Linked DNA regions of Homo sapiens: all the other regions are linked to region 3. Evidence: promoter capture Hi-C in 16 types of primary human blood cells and fetal thymus (Javierre and others, 2016). All regions are on one chromosome and are shown on one strand. The core of a region is centred on a gene start or on the middle of the fragment in contact, and the rest is flanking DNA. Distances in the headings are between cores, read along the strand shown. Region 1 overlaps LOC100505782 (a long non-coding RNA gene). Region 2 overlaps LOC105371777 (a long non-coding RNA gene). Region 3 holds the start of KRTAP4-12 (keratin associated protein 4-12).

The links. The method cuts DNA at HindIII sites, captures the fragments that hold promoters and counts their contacts. A CHiCAGO score of 5 or more calls a contact.
Region 1: a fragment that was not itself captured here is called in contact with the fragment with the promoter of KRTAP4-12 in region 3 in 6 of 17 cell types (total CD4 T cells, naive CD8 T cells, naive CD4 T cells and 3 more); the score reaches 6.3 in total CD4 T cells.
Region 2: a fragment that was not itself captured here is called in contact with the fragment with the promoter of KRTAP4-12 in region 3 in 1 of 17 cell types (neutrophils); the score reaches 5.1 in neutrophils.

The regions. Positions count from the first base shown.
Region 1 is chr17:41,412,292-41,415,701 of GRCh38, reverse strand. It overlaps LOC100505782 (a long non-coding RNA gene), which reads right to left. Exons shown (of 3, transcript NR_040111.1): 3 at 3,114-3,283. Among named protein-coding and RNA genes, the nearest start is that of KRT37, 11 kb to the left of the region's middle. The HindIII fragment of the contact is 7,068 bases long and covers 1-3,410 here.
Region 2 is chr17:40,858,631-40,862,178 of GRCh38, reverse strand. All of the region lies in intron 1 of LOC105371777 (a long non-coding RNA gene), which reads right to left. KRT12 (keratin 12) reads left to right here. Exons shown (of 8, transcript NM_000223.4): 8 at 421-876. The coding sequence ends at 518. Among named protein-coding and RNA genes, the nearest start is that of KRT12, 6.8 kb to the left of the region's middle. The HindIII fragment of the contact is 5,577 bases long and covers 1-3,548 here.
Region 3 is chr17:41,122,632-41,126,059 of GRCh38, reverse strand. It overlaps KRTAP4-12 (keratin associated protein 4-12), which reads left to right and starts at 1,878. Exons shown (of 1, transcript NM_031854.3): 1 at 1,878-2,969. The coding sequence starts at 1,938. The coding sequence ends at 2,543. RefSeq lists an enhancer at 2,198-2,751. The HindIII fragment of the contact is 5,176 bases long and covers 1,014-3,428 here.

The DNA.
Region 1 (3,410 bases), core at 182-2,681, 290 kb before region 3:
CCCACAGGCATAAGCAACACAGTGTGCATATTTTCCTTTTTGTCTCTCCTCTCTCCTTCATCCTAGATATCCTCCTAAAACAAACCTCAGCAAAGAAGAGCAAACTAGGAAAACAAACAGAACTTGCTTATTACATTGGAGAAAACTGCATGCTAACTGATTTGAAGTACAGTAATCCAAACACTGGCTCCTCTTGAATTCATCAAATCCTGTTTTGTGACCTGGTGCTTCATTCACCTAGGATGAAGTCACCACAAAACTTGTCTATTGCTATGGAGCAGTGATTCCGTCTTCCAAGGGTGGTCCCCAGACCAGCAGCATCAGTGTCATGTGGGAACTTGTTAGAAATGCAGACTCCCTGGCCTGACCCCAGACCGCTTGAATCAGAAACTGTGGTGTGGGGCCTGAAAACCTGCATTTTTTGCAAGCCCTCTGGGTGATTCTGATGCTGGTTAAAGTTTGACCACTGGTGGAGATGTTATGAAAATAGAAGCAGACAATATTTTTAGCATAGAGGAGTACAAACTTCACTCTTACAGGCTTCAGAAATGCAATTTGGCTCTTTGGGTTGACATTTTGTGTCATTCAAACTCATTTCTTTGGGGGTCCAGTACTTGGGACAGGCCTGTTGTTGGCTGTTGCATTTCTGAAGTTGTACCCAGTTCTCTTGAGCCCACTTCTGCTTCTGAGTGTTTTCTTGTGTTCATCCTCTTTTTTTTTTTGTCACCCAGGCTGGAGCACAGTGGCTCGATCTCGGCTCACTGCAACCTCCACCTCCCAGGTTCAAGCAATTCTCCTGCCTCAACCTCCCGAGTATCTGGGACTACAGGCGTGTGCCACCACACCCAGCAAATTTTTGTATTTTTAGTAGAGATGGGGTTTCACCATGTTGGCCAGGATGGTCTCGATCCTTGATCTCGTGATCCGCTTGCCTCGGCTTCCCAAAGTGCTAGGATTACAGGCGCGAGCCACTGCGCCTGGCCTGTTCATCCTCTTTTTCTGGAAAACTGTCTCCCATCTTTCCTGCCCATCCAAGTCTTCCCAATCTTAAGTTCCAGACAAAGTGTCTTTGATGGCCCCTCTATATCTCTAAGCTCCAGTCACTTCTCCCTCCACTGAGTTACGTGACCTCTTTTTCTGCTCTCAGCTTTTTGAGGGTGGAAATTTCTCCTTTTCATCTCTGCATCCCCCATCCCCTTGAGAAGGGCTTTGGTATAACAGGAGTTCAGGAATATCAGACATTCAGAGTAAGTCACCAGGATAAGGCAAATCATGCCTTGGAGAATATCACCCACATCTGTATAGAGTTACAGAGAAGGGTCCCCATGCGTCTCATTGACTGTATATGGGACCAACTGGTGGCTGGCTGGTTGTCATGGCTGAATAGCCAGTGGCTCCAGCATGGTTTACACAAAAGTCCTGGGCAAGAAGGTTTTCTGGCCATCTACTGGCAGCCTTTCAATCTAAACTAATCAGAAATCCCACTGTACAGCCCGCACTTAAGAGTGATAGTAACTGTTACATCATGGAGCATGTCCAGGGAAACATTCCTGGGATGGCAAGGGGACTTTGAACCATGCTGAATGCAGAACCAGGAGTAAGAAATCTCACATCTGCCACAAAGAGCTGAGAATATGGCAGAATGATTAGATTTATCCTGTATGGGACACCATGGGGGAGAACTGGAGAGTAAATGAACTAAAGGGCCAACTCTCTGACTTACTTGCCAATGTATTACTAGCCTCCAGCTCAGCCCCTGGTTGGCACAGAGTAGGTACTTCATAGCTATTTGTTGAATGAATGAATGAATGACCCAACAAAAGCTATAGGGAGAGGTAACACGAAGGTAGATTTGTGAAGACTTTCTAAAAATTCTCTATAATGTGAGTGCCTTAAGGCTGAGCTAGCTGCTGTTAATTTTCTGGATACCAGTGTCTTGCACAAAGCCTGGGAAGCTGTTTGTAAGCCACAGGAACTGATGGTGTAAGCTCTCCTGGAAAATGGTGGACTAGATGACTAGTTGGAGGAAGGTCATCGAAGGGATTTAATGCAAATGGGTACTAGACTAGAGGACCCTGAAGTCCCTTTCGTCCTGGAGATGCTATGTTGTAGTGCCAGCTGAAACACACTTGCTGCTTCAAGGGCCCTCGTGGTGAATTCATTCATCTTAGGAATGCGGTCAAATTAGCATCTTTGTTAGCATAGACTGGAAGCTGGCTAGCTGCCCTTTTCCAGGGTGTATTGAACAAATGGCCACTGGCTTATTTGTTTTAGAAATAGGGGAGGCCATAAAGGTTCTGATGCTCTGAGTGTGTCTGAAGATTAAGGAAATTTAAATTTTGTTCTAGAGTCTCCCAAGCAATGGATAATCAAGGTAGATGCATTTCAAAGAAATGCAAAAATATTTCAAAAGATGAAAGATCAAAGTTCTTGAGTACGTATCTTCTGTAAACAAGGGTGATGAGGGACTCAGTCTGGTGAAAGGGTCAATAGAAAGGAAAGATGCCTGGGAAGGTGGGTGAGGCCCTGAGAACAGACACCATAAAGTGTTAATCACTGCCTGCCTTAATTAGCCTGTAGACTCCAGTACACAGAAGCATAATTTTATTTTCTGAAAATTGCAAACCATCAGTTTTATTATGAGCCGTTTTTTTCTCACTCCCAAAACGCTTATCTGTTTCACGTATGCACAGGGAAAGTCTTAATTGCCAACATCTGTTTTATAGGTTGTGTATTGATTTTAATTCAGTTCAAAATACTTAAAAATTTTTAAATTAGATTTCTTATTTAACCCAAGGAGTATTAAAAACTGTGTTAGTTTTCAAACACCAAGATTAATTTTGAACTTAGGTTTCATTTTCAGTTTTCTAATAATTTGTGTAAAGGAACTTTCCACCTTTTTTCTGCTACTTTCCTTCAAAAGGAAGCTGGCTATTTATTTTTCCTTATACTTGAAAGTCGTCTTCCAGGGCAGATCCCTACCTTTCACTCACCTTTGCCTCAAGACCATGGTCCTGGTATTTAAGACTTTTCACAACCTGGACTCAATGCAACTTTCCGGGGCTTGGGGATAATGTCTCCATTATAAATACCAACACAACTAGACTATTTTCCATTTTCCAAATGTTTGATTGTGTTTATTTTGTTCTCTATGAGAGAAGCTCATTCCCCAACCCTTTATAAAAAATATCATTCAAAACATATTTGGAAAATCCCCTACTCCATGAAGTCTTTTTCCGGTCTCTCAGTGAGCTCTCTTCCACCTCGAAATCTTTGCAGCTGTCTTTTAAAAAAAAAAAAATACTTCCTTTTACTGTCTTCATAATATCAAGATCATTTACTTTTTTATCTTTCTTATTAAAATCTAAAATCTCCTTCTTACAAGACAGCATAGATGTGCGTTTGTTCCG
Region 2 (3,548 bases), core at 945-3,444, 260 kb after region 3:
GAGGACCGCTTGAGCCCGGGAGTTAGAGGTTATAGTGAGCTATGATCATGCCACTGCATTCCTACCTGGGCAACAGAGCCAGACCCTGTCTTTAAGAAAATTAAAATTAAAATTAAAAAATAAAAAAAATGGCAAAGCAGAAGGGAAAAAACCTACTCTGCTGCAAGGTATTATGATCACCATAACCACCTTTGAAATGTTTTCTTAAAAAAAGTTTTCATATATGTACAAGGCAACACTGAATACATTTCATTGTCATTGGCTAAAACACATTTTTGAGAAGTAAAATTTACTTTTGAAAGTTTAATTAGATGGATTGTATCAACCAATGCTTAATTTAGAAGCCTACATTAAACAACCAGTGTTGGATTAATATTTGAAACACTAACTCTTGCCCCCTTATTCCATTTTTATCTTTAGACCCAACCAAAACCCGAAAAATCAAGACAGTTGTGCAGGAGATGGTGAATGGTGAGGTGGTCTCATCTCAAGTTCAGGAAATTGAAGAACTAATGTAAAATTTCACAAGATCTGCCCCATGATTGGTTCCTTAGGAACAAGAAATTTACAAGTAGAAATTATTCCTTTCAGAGTAACATGCTGTATTACTTCAATCCCTATTTTTGTCTGTTCCATTTTCTTTGGATTCCCTATTCACATTGAATCCTTTTTGCCCTTCTGAAACAATATTCAGTCACAAGTCATTTTGGTCATGTTGGTCTTTGTAACAAATCAAAATTACCTTATATCCTTCTGGACCTGGAGTAGTCTTTTAACGAACTTTCTTCTGGTAACCCGGAATATTTTTTAATCATAGAGCTTTAATCAAGTAGTATTGTTTTAATAGAGTTAATTGTAATAAAAGATGAATGGTAATAATGTGAAATGTATGCCTTGATTCCAACAAGAATGTCAAGAGCATAGAGAGAAGTTTTTGAAATACTACTAATAAAATAGAGGCTGGGAGTAATGACTCACACCTATAATCCCAGCACTTTGGGAGGCTGAGAGGCAAGATGATTGCTTGAGGCCCGGAGTTCAAGACCAGCCTGGACAACATAGAGAGACCCCCATCTCTACACAACATTAATAATGATAATAATGATAATGTAGATAAAACTGGGATGAAGATGTCAGGGTTTGAGGATTAAGCTAAAAGAAGATTCTTTTAGAAGTTCTGGCCTTTTTATGTAAGCTCATCAAGGTTGTAGCAAAATTATATTGTCTACTACAGCAGTTGAGAGTTGTCCTGTTCATTTTCTAGCACCATCATTCATGCAGTCAAGAAACGCTGAGCCCCTACAGTGTGCCAGGTTGGAGGCTCAGTGATGAATATGATATGGTCCTTGCCTTGAGGAGCTCATGGTTGAGGGCAGAGATAAACACCTACCAAGAATGTTGATACAGTGAGATCTGTTGAATAGAAGTTCAAAGGGCTGGGCACCATGGCTCACGCCCGTAATCCCAGCACTTTGGGAGGCTGAGGCGGGCAGATCATGAGCTCAAGAGATCAAGACCATCCTGGCCAACATGGTGAAACCCCATCTTAACTAAAAATACAAAAATTAGCCGGGTGCAGTTGCAGGTGGCTGTAATCCCAGCTACTCAGGAGGCTGAGGCAGGCGAATCACTTGAACCCGGGAGGCGAAGGTTGCAGTGAGCCAAGATTGCACCACTGCACTCCAGCATGGCAATAGAGTGAGACTCTGTCTCAAAAAAAAAAAAAGCAAAAAAAAGAAAACAAACAGAACTTCGAAGGACACATGGAAGAAGTGAACAATTTTCCAGGAGGGGCAATGAAATGCTACATAAAGAAATCATCCAGGTAGACGAGGGAGAAAGGCAACAGGGCAAATACATGTGAAAAGACAGAGGGTGTGAACAAACATGGTTCTGCTCTCCTTTCTCCTAGCTGGCAGCAGTGAGGCCCAGGGTGGGGTCCCCACTGGGGCAGGTCAGACCCACAAGTCAGTAACAAAAATCATGTTCTGCATTAGGGAAAAAGGCAGCCAAAGTCTCAGCCTGAGTAGATGGTGGTTCAACATGGGTTGCCAAATTCAAAACCCTAAAAGGAAAATGGGCAAAATTCAATGATTAAGAGCCTGGCCTCTAACATCACACTGGGTTCAATTTCCGGCTCTGCTACTTAATAACAAGTAATTTAACCTCTGTGTTCCTCAGTTTCTTAAAGTGGAAATGATAGCAATGACTGCACCTGCTTCATGGCACGGGTTTTGTGAAGATGAAATGAGGTCGTGTACCTAAAGCACTAGGAACCTGGAAACTATTGGCACCTAGAAAGTACTCAATATTTGTGTCTTATTATTATTTACTGTATGAAACCAAAGTGGGATGAAGAAACAAGGAGACATGGTGAATAAGGAGTGTCAAAGAAGCAGAAGGGAGAGGGAGGAGTTGTGTTAGACAAGAGGAATTCCAGAGCTGAGTCCAAAGGCCAATGGCTAGTCAGCCAACTTAAGCTGATTTGCTTCAGTATGCAGCTTTTCCTTTTAATATCATTTATATGGCCAGATGCAGTGGCTCACGTCTGTAATCCCAGCACTTTGGGAGGCCAATATGGGCAGATTGCTTGGGCCCAGGAATTCAAGACCAGCCTGGACAACATGGTAAAACTCTGTCTCTACAAAAAAAATTTAAAAAATAAAAAAAAATTAGTCGGGTGTGGGGGTGCACACCTGTAGTCCCAGCTACTTGGGAGGCTGAGGTGGAAGGATTACCTGAGCCTGGGAAGGTCAAGAATGCAGTGAGCTGTTATCGTGCCACTGCACTCCAGCCTGGGCAACAGAGTAAGACCCTGTCTCAAAAAAAAGAAAAGAAAAAAATATTTTTAATGGTTTCAGATCCTCCACTCATCTCACTTTATTATACGCTCAGCTCTCTTTGTCTAGCCTTCACCTTCCAGCACACATCCTAGGGTAACCTTTACCTTTCAGACTCAAAAGGATTTTATCAAGGCCTCTGAACAAGGTCCACAGCCCCCAAGTAATAAATAAAGGATTCTACTTCCCTGGTGCTCAAAAGTGTCTGCAAATAGTTACTGCTTTAAATAACATCTGTTTTCCTTACAACTACATAAGAATGGTGTGAGACTCAAAGGGGAAAGGATTTTGCACAAGTATAAATGCAAGGGTCATTTATTAGCTAGTACCATAGTTTCTCAGCATTCCCTTCTCTTGGAAATTTTTTACCACAAAGCTCCCAGAGCCATCACTCTGTAGGCAGCTTTTTCTCAGACTTCTGTGACTGAATGTTGGCTCAATCCTCTTGTCTTTTCTCTATACTCCCTCCCCAGGTAACCTCATCTGATCCCTCCCCAGCCTCTCCTCCCTGATCTTATCCCATGGGTTTTGTTTGTTTGTTTGAGAGGGAGTCTCGCTCTGTTGCCCAGGCTGGAGTACAATGGTGTAATCTTGGCTCACTGCAACCTCCACCTCCCAGGTTCAAGCGATTCTTCTGCCTCAGCCTCCTGAGTAGCTGGGGCTATAGGCATACACCACCACGCCCAGCTAATTTTTGTAATTTTGGTA
Region 3 (3,428 bases), core at 629-3,128:
TCCCACCTTAGCTTCCTGAGTAGCTGGGACCACAGACCACAGATGCATGCCACCTCGCCATTTTTTTTTTTTTTTTTGCTTTTTTTTGTTTTTTTGGTAGAGATGGGGTTTTGCCAAGTTAACCAAGTTGGTCTCAAATTCCTAACCTCAAACAATCCGCCTGCCTTGGCATCCCAAAGTGCTGGGATTACAGGTGTGAGCCACCGTGTCCAGTCTCAGAAGTCTTTTATATACTATTAACCCTTTGTCCGTGATATTAATTGCTAGTTCTTTTTTTATTATTTAGTCATTTGTGTTTTTACTTTGTTTATGATGGTTTCTTACCATACATTTTTTTTTTTTAAATTTTACTTTAAGTTTTGGGATACATGTGCAGAACATGCAGGTCTGTTACATAGTTATACATATGCCATGATGGTTTGCTGCACCTATCAATCCGTCATCTGGGTTTTAAGCCCGACATGCATCAGGTATTTGTCCTAATGCTCTCCCTCCCCTTGTCCCTCACCCCCGACAGGCTCCAGTGTGTGATGTTCCCCTCCCTGTGTCCATGTGATCTCATTGTTCAACTCCCACTTAGGAGTGAGAACATACCTTGCATCTTTTTAATTATAAATAATTGTTTTTAAATATCAGGAGGGATTTAATTGCAAAATGTTCATGCGCAAAATGTTCCTTGAACACTCTAGGAGAGACGCCCTTTCCCTGTTACAGACTGTGTGACTTCAATCTATCTGGGCCTCAAGTACCTTGGATGTAAAGAATTTAGAAAAATTGTGTCTACATAGCAGAATCCTTGTGAAGTATAAACAAGATAACAATTATAGAGGACTCAGAAAATTCCTGACACATAGTAAGCACTCAAAAAATTATAACTATTAGTATTGTTTCATCTTTCATTGGAAGTGTACAGATTAAATACATAATTGTTATTTTGTTCACTAATCACACCATTCTCTAAATAGTTGCTAAATTCTTTCCTATACATGTTTCTTATTTGTCTTGTTTAAGCTTCTGTAGGACAGAAATTAAACTTGATCCTTTGTTTCTTTTCTCCATGTATCAAGCAAAATATCTCCAACATACATTGTGAGAAAAAGCAGCTTTCGAGTATGAGAAAATCTACTTTCAATAACACTTCAGTTAAACACATTCAGTGGGTATCTTGACTTACCAACAAAATAGAACAAAAATGTTCCTTATGATCCCCATCTCTGAAGAACATGCCAACAATAATTTATAAAGGGACCTATCATGCCAATGTATTTTTACTTGTAAAGCAATGAATCATTGCATTATATCTGTTTCAAGCTAAATAGAGTCAATAACATGAAACAGGAATTTCAGTGGGATCTTTTATATCTCACTGACCAGCCACAAAATTCAAAGGAATCACAGTGTTCCTTATTATACACAAGTTACCTCCTATCACCCCCCAAAGATGAATCTTTCATCACATTTTCCTACCAGCATTCTATGTAATTTATTTTTAACCTCTTTGAGAGCAGAGGAGATTTAGTCATCATAAAATCTATTTTCAACTTATTATCCAGGAGTCAAATAAATAAAGAATTAACTTATGAAATCCAATCAAACAATGTCATGTAATGGGTCTACACATCAGAAGACACATCAGATGAAGGAAGGAGAATGAGAGCTGATTCACTTGGCTTAACCAAATTGGATAGCTCAGAATACAACAGGAAAAGGAAATGTTGCCTTTTCTATTTATAGAAATATTTACCAGATAAGGACAACTATCTAATTTACTAAAAAACAACTGATTCTCTATTAGTAATGTGCAAACCACAAGATTATTCACATTGTCATAGTGGTTCTCAGCAGGGTATAAAAAGCAAAAGAGAGAACAAGGAGAGATCAAACTCAGAACACTCACTCTCCTGGAAACCCACCGAGAACCTCCACCCTCTGACACCATGGTCAACTCCTGTTGTGGCTCTGTGTGCTCTGACCAGGGCTGTGGCCTGGAGAACTGCTGCCGCCCCAGCTGCTGCCAGACCACCTGCTGCAGGACCACCTGCTGCCGCCCCAGCTGCTGTGTGTCCAGCTGCTGCAGGCCCCAGTGCTGCCAGTCTGTGTGCTGTCAGCCCACCTGCTGCCGCCCCAGCTGCTGTCAGACCACCTGCTGTAGGACCACCTGCTGCCGCCCCAGCTGCTGTGTGTCCAGCTGCTGCAGACCCCAGTGCTGCCAGTCTGTGTGCTGCCAGCCCACCTGCTGCCGCCCCAGCTGCTGTCAGACCACCTGCTGCAGGACCACTTGCTGCCGCCCCAGCTGCTGTGTGTCCAGCTGCTGCAGACCCCAGTGCTGCCAGTCTGTGTGCTGCCAGCCCACCTGCTGCCGCCCCAGCTGCTGCATCTCCAGCAGCTGCTGCCCCTCTTGCTGTGAATCCAGCTGCTGCCGCCCCTGCTGCTGCCTGCGTCCAGTCTGTGGCCGAGTCTCCTGCCACACCACTTGCTATCGCCCAACCTGTGTCATCTCCACCTGCCCCCGCCCCTTGTGCTGTGCCTCCTCTTGCTGCTAAATCTCTGCTGTGAACACACCACTTCCTTATTACGTCCTTTCCTACAGATGAAGGCTCTCATTGCAAACATGCGGACTGTTCAAGAGAATTGATCTGGGTCCCATAAGCAAACCTCATCCTTAGAAATTCTGTATTTGCATTCTACCTTTTGTCCAAACTCCCTTCCTTCCAAAGGAATTCATTGACAATCTCCTAATAAATTGACAAATTGTCCTCCAACATCCTCCCACCTCTTTGACTTCAGGACATTTATTCATCATGCCTAAGGAATTTGAAGATTGCCTCCATCATTTGTAGGGCCACAGATCTTAAAGCCTCCAACCTTGAAGTCCAGTGAAGTCTCTCTCTTAAAGTCTTTTGCAAACATTTTTGTACCTTGTTATTTCCATGTACCAAAATAAACCTCTATTCTATTGGCACTGAAAATTGAATATGATTCTTATTCTCTTTTTAAAAAGGGTTTTATATTTAGGTCCTGGGTGATTACATTTAACTACACCTGTAGGGCTCACAGCACAGATTAGTCAACCTTCTAACAGAGGTCAACTGACATCGATCACTGCCTAGTTTTTTTCTAGAAAAGTCTTTTCAGGCTTAGGCAAATCAATTAGTCATTTTGTATTCTTTAGACAAAAAGAGTGAAGCTGAAGTCATGAAATATCCATGAATATAACAACAGGGGAAACGTTTTGAAAGATTGATCACAACTCATCATCTTTTAAAAAATAATTTCAACTTTTATTTTAGAATCAAAGAGTACATATTCGTATTTGTTACATGTTGTGTGATGCTGAGGTTTGGGCTACAAATGATTCTGTCACCAGGTACTGAGCAGTGGGTCATTTTTAGCCCTTCCTCTCTCCCTCTCTCCCCCCTTTTTGGAGT